Linked DNA regions of Homo sapiens: region 2 is linked to region 1. Evidence: promoter capture Hi-C in 16 types of primary human blood cells and fetal thymus (Javierre and others, 2016). All regions are on one chromosome and are shown on one strand. Each heading gives the region's core, a stretch centred on a gene start or on the middle of the fragment in contact. The rest is flanking DNA. Distances are from core to core; before and after follow the strand shown.

Region 1 (2,907 bases), core at 131-2,630:
AGGTCATCTTGCTACGCCATTCTGACCCAGCTGTCACCACCCTCACACTTTTTAGTTATCTATCAGTGGCTGGTGTCAGGCAGGTAAGCCCACAACACTCACCCAAGTCATGCTCATTAACCCTCTGACTGGCTGCCCTTATCCCACGATCTCCACTAAGTTCAAGCATTTTTTCCCCAGTATCAGAGGAGGAACACTGTTTATTCCAGTCTACATGCTTCAAGTAGAAGTGAGGAAACCAAGGCCCAGAGAGGTGTGTACTTACTTGCCCAGTCCTCACTAGGATGAAGTCAGGGTTAGGACTAGCCCCGACTGGGCGCTGGGAGCTAACAGCTAGGGGAGGAACTGCATGACTTTTGTCCTGGAGAAATGTTATGGCAGGTGGACACCAGGGCACAGGCATATACCCGAAGTGTCCAGGGCAGACAGGGACTGCTCGTCACCCCAGATGGGACCTGCTAAGGGCCCAAAAAGAGACTGAAGGTGGGAAATGTTTTTGTTTTTCAGTGTGAAGCGTTGCCAAACATATATTCTAGGTTTGGGAATCCTCGGGACCTTTGGAAGCCAGATTCAGCGAAGATGCTGTACCTTTTGGGGATAGCTCTAACACGAGGTTAACGCAATGCTCCATGTCCCTGGCTGGGCTTAGCTGTGAGTGCGTCGACCTCTGGACTCTGTGCAAATGGACACTCTGTAACTGACACAGCTGGTAGGGGTTACCGAGAGAGCTGGGTTCCTGGTCTGGTGGACTCCGCCGGATATGCAACGAGCTCTTTATGGCACCTTGGAGATGGTTGCTTTTAGTGCCGTTGACAGCGGGCTCAGAGCACCAAGTGAGCTAGCACCGTATTTATTAGTAAATTACTCCATAACTCTAGGGCTCCCAGAAGACCAAAATCATTTGAGCAGATTGCACCCAGAGCACCGCGTGGAGAGAGAAGAAAGCCCGCCACCCACAGACCGCTTCCTCCTACCACAGGTCCCCCATCGAGTTGCATTTGTTGTCCCTCCCTAGGCGCATTTCTGAGCCTTCCTTTCTTAAACATACACCGAGCGAAAATGCGCCGGAGGGAGGCGATGTTGCCTGTGAGCCAAAGCCGGTTCGGCACCAAGACAGAAGCAGAGAGAACTGATCTCTCTCCCGGTACCCATGACAATCTCAGAGCTAGATCTATATCGTCCCGCGCCCAGCAAGAAGCACTGTGTGACTGTACTCCCCCGACCCCCAGGACATCCCCACGCCCAGCTTCCCAGGCCGGTCTTCTGCGCGGCTCAAGTAGCCCAGGTCTCCACGCAACAATGAAGCGTGGGCGGCCCCAGCAGCTTCATTTGCATATCGCCGCGGCTTGGCCAATGGGCTGCGCAGGGGCTTTGGAACGCAGTGTTGCCATCGGCGTGCGCGCGTGTGTGCGAGTGTGACAGCGGCTGTGGCTGTGGCCGTGGCCGTGGGAGGCGGGCCCGGCGGAGCCCAGCCGCGGGGGGACCGGCCCGGGCTCCCGCTCCCCGAGCGCGTCGCGGCCGCGTGGCCCAGCCGAGCCTTGAGACCACCCCGCCCCTGCCGGTCGCAGTCGCGATGTCGGTGGCCGGGCTGAAGAAGCAGTTCCACAAAGCCAGCCAGGTAGGGAGGCGCAGAGGAGGGAAGGAGGGAGGGGGACGCGGAGGCTGCGGCCCCCCGAGGCTCCCGGGCCTTTGGGACTCCTGTTCCCTGAAGGGCCTCTCTCGGGGCTCAATTTCTTCCCGCCTAGGAGGGCGCGAGGGTGGGGTGAGGGGCCGCCTGCTCTCTCCTCGGCGTCTTGGCGCCTTCTCCTTCCCATTCCCTGGCCCCCGGCTCTGCCCTGGGCCGTTGTAAATCGGAGAGATTCTGCGGAGCGGAGGGCAGAGGTGGCGGCCGCGGGGACTCGGGAGGCGGAGACGGAGTGGGCGTGGGGGGGCCCCTACCCGCGCGAGGGGAGGACGACCACAGGGAGTACGATGCCGGCAGGGCCTCCCCCGAGTCTCCAGCCGTTTGGTTGGGAGAGCCTCGTGGGGGGCCCATCCTCCACCGGCCACCGGCGCCTCCAGAGATGCTGTGTATTTGGCGCTTGGCTGTGTCCCGCTGAGCTCCCCGCGCGCGCATCGAAATGGCCCCGTCTGGACTGTGCCCGGCTCCCCGGCTGGGGCTCTCTACCGCGGTCCTTCCCCTCCCCACCGTCTTCCCGGTGTCGGCCCGGGGCTGGGCATCACGCTTCTGCTCTTACAGAGCTGACAGCCTGCAGGGGAGACACGGAGACAGACACGTAAACAAACAGTGCTAGACACACCTCCACGCACAGAGGATGACAAATAACACAGTGGGGGCGTCAGGGAGAGCTTCCCGGAGGAGGAGACATGTCATTTGAGAATTAAGTATGAGGAAGAATTATGGCTGAGGGTGTGGGATGATAGGAGGAAAGCCGTTCTGAGCAGAGGAAACAGGAAAACAGGAGGGGAGACATGAAATTGATGTGTGTGTGTGTGTGTGTGTGTGTGTGTGTGTGTGTGTTGATGACAAGCAAATTTGTTTTTCAACATCAACATTGCAGGCTCTTCCAGCTATGGCAGAGCTCACGTTGTAAAACCTGTTCCCCACCAGCACCGCTGGGTCTGTTGCTTCTCACCACCTCTCCCCGCAACCCCAGCCCCCATTTTGCTAGAGCCAGGGTAGACAGATTTCATTCAACGTCCACATTTGTGGTGAGGTCTCATCCTGCTTCTCCCACAAATTGGCCCATAGAAAGCAACTGCAATTAGAAGATTCTCTTCTTCTAGCCCCAGTTCCAGGCTGAAAGGCACTGCTGTCCCCTCACTCACACTCTTTCCATATGGAAACTGGGTGATGCTGTTTCTAGCTGGGGGCACTGGGTGGACAGTGGTGCTATTCAAGGTGTT
Region 2 (2,907 bases), core at 177-2,676, 87 kb after region 1:
CAGGAAACCAGTAATTTCCAAGAAATCCCCACCTGCAGCTAACTACTTAGGTCTCATTGCCCATAATGAGACATATGACTACCTGTAGTCACAAGGAATGCTGGGAAAGCAGGGAATGTTCTGGCATAGTGATCATTGCCTGGGCTGGGCCCATTGACACTGTATGCAAAATTTGGGTTCTGTTAGTGAGGAAGAGGAGAGTGTTTATTGAGTGGCCAGCTAACAGTGTTGGACTTACATAGGTTGAGAAATGAATGGGAAGTGAGAAAATGGGGACAGTCCATGTCTATGACACCTTAAGAGGCAGTTCTGAGGAGTATGGACTAGAAAGGGTGGTAGCCAGAGTAGAATATGGGGAAATAATGGAAGGTTACATTCTAGAATATGAAAGGCTTGAGTACATGTAAATGTTGATGTGAGTGGGAGAGATTGAAGATGCACCGGAGCTTTCACACCCCAGGACAATACCTAGAGACTTGGGATGGGTGAGGGCTGTGCTTTTCTATTGTAAAATGGCAGAAGGGGTTCATATAGGAGCTTCTGAAGACAAATCGGTTAATAGGAAAGAGCATATACAGAGGCTTAGGATCTGGAAATACAGTCATTTAAAACTATCCATGTTCAGTATCCATGTGTTTCCAGTTTAAAGACTACTGCTTTAAATCATATAACAGTTTCTGTTCAGTCATTAGCATTTCCAGTTCTATGTGATAATCACAAGTTGAATGCTGACTTGATGTTAATTTTCTCCCCCTCCCCAGCTAGGGTTGGCCTCGGGTAGGGCATTGCCACAGGGAGGGTGTGTGCTCCCTTTGAGTCTCTTACCCCAGAGTTTCTTGCCCTCTGGGTTTGGAGTGTAGGATGAAAGGAGGGGAAAGTGGGGCAGGGAAGTTTCTGTTTCTTTGGTGATTGCAGTATGGCTTTGATCTCTCTGGTCCCTGGCAGGTGTTCAGAGCTGACTTATTCGCAGGTGTCCCATTTCCTTGCTGAGCCAATTTGTCTTCCCTCTGGTTAGTATTTACTTGACTCATGCAATGTACGTTTTTATTTCTGGTGGTACTAACTTTTTAAGGATCCTCTTGGGAAGTATCTCCTTAACTTGGGACTCACTTCTGGTCCCAGGGTTTACCAGGCTTTGATCTGCCTTGATGTTTGGGGTGCTGTGTTTCAATATGTTCCCATAGATTGTGTTGGAAGCTCAATTGCTACTGTAACAGTATTAAAAGGTGGGCCTTTAGGAGGTGATTAGGCCATGAGGTCTTGCTCCCGTGAATGGAGAGAGTTTGGCCTCTATTTTCTCTCTATCTCATGTGCTCCCTCCTCCCTTCTGTTTTCTGCCATGGGATTTACCCTTGCCAGATGCTGGTGCCATGCTGTTGGACTTACTGGCCTCCAAAACTGTGAGCTAAATAAATATCTTTTCTCTATAAATTACCCAATTGCTGGTATTCTGTTATAGCAGCAGAAAATGGGTCAAAACAGGAGTGGAGTTACTTCTAGTGCAGCAGTGTCTCTCTGTCTTCCCCTCTCTCTCCCTCTCTCCCTCTCTCCCTCCCTCTTGTTGGCTTAGGCCGAAAGATTCGAAACCTTTGTGTCTATGTATTTTTAAAAGTTCACAGATCCATTGACCTGATTCTGATATTCACAGGGGCTCCCTACAGACCAAGCAAATTTAATGGGAAAAGAACACTTGACTTCATAAAGAAGAAATTTAAAATATATTTTATAAGAAAAATGAATAAAATTTAAGAAAATAAAAATTAACTCCAGGTCCTAAAAACAAAACATTCAGAAAAATAGTTACCTACTTCTGTTCCCCTCAGACTTGTTCTCAGCAACATTAAATGCCAGAAAGCAGCAGAAATTGCAATATTTCCAGAGTATTGAGGAAGGAATAGAATGACCCTCAAATACCATACTTAGCTTGATGCATAGAAGGCACTAATTTTGTTGTTGTTGTTAAACAAATACCAGAATGCAAATGTCTTTTCTCTGGGGATGGTTGCAGAAAAGTATGTGTAACTCATTGTACTTTTGTAAAAGAAAAACATGTGTTTGTATATGTAAATTTAGGAAAAAGGTGGAAAGAATTGTCTCAGACTGATTAAACCCAGGAATGGAGGGAACTTTACTTCTTAATTCTTATAATGAAGTCAAAGTTTTAATAAAATTTGGTAATATTTTACATTTTGTATTTTTTAGTTTTTGAAAAATACCATCTATGTAAAAAAAAGGCAAACACTATCATAGATCAAAGCCTAATTATACAGTTTTTTTATTTAAAACAAGCTGTTCTTGCATATTCATTAAAAAAAAAACTCAGGTATATTATTTGTGCCAGAACAGTCTTTAGACCTATATTTATTGGTGAACTTTAAGAATAAAACATTGTCAGCTTCAACCTTCTATGTCCTTTTAAAGGTGATTAAACTTTCCTAGGTTGGACAGGATGGCTTGAGGAGAATGACGTACATTAATTTTTCTAGCCAAATTATTTCATGTGGCTCAGAACCCATTCAGTCATTCTATTATACAATCTGATCTTTTAAACTCATCTAAATAGCTACTCGACATTGTCCTTATCAGGCCTAGGTCAATGATAAAGGTACATAACAGAATAAATCTCCCTAAAGGAAGAAAGGAAAAGATTAACTCTCTCCCAAATCCCCATGAAACTTCATGTTCCTACATGGACCTGTTTGTAGTCTGGTCCCCAGACACTGTTGAGATCTGGGAACACGGGGTCCCAGAAAGAAAGCAGCCTTCATGATTAATTCACTTTCAAAGGTTCTGCCTTAACCATTCAGGGTGTTCTAAAAAGAATCTTCTGAAAGACCACATTTTGCTATGAAATCAATCAAAAACAAAATACCAGTCAGAATCAAACTTTTTAAAAGGTCACACTCA

The links. Contacts are between HindIII fragments. The CHiCAGO score rates a contact against its expected background, and 5 or more counts as called.
Region 2: a contact is called between a fragment that was not itself captured here and the fragment with the promoter of SH3GL3 in region 1, in 1 of 17 cell types (fetal thymus). The highest score is 6.7, in fetal thymus.

What each region holds. Positions count from the first base shown.
Region 1 is chr15:83,445,961-83,448,867 of GRCh38, forward strand. It overlaps SH3GL3 (SH3 domain containing GRB2 like 3, endophilin A3), which reads left to right and starts at 1,381. Exons shown (of 9, transcript NM_003027.5): 1 at 1,381-1,618. The coding sequence starts at 1,574. RefSeq lists an enhancer at 1,077-1,236. The HindIII fragment of the contact is 8,141 bases long and covers 1-2,907 here.
Region 2 is chr15:83,532,871-83,535,777 of GRCh38, forward strand. The region is part of intron 1 of SH3GL3 (SH3 domain containing GRB2 like 3, endophilin A3); the gene reads left to right. Among named protein-coding and RNA genes, the nearest start is that of SH3GL3, 87 kb to the left of the region's middle. The HindIII fragment of the contact is 3,041 bases long and covers 1-2,907 here.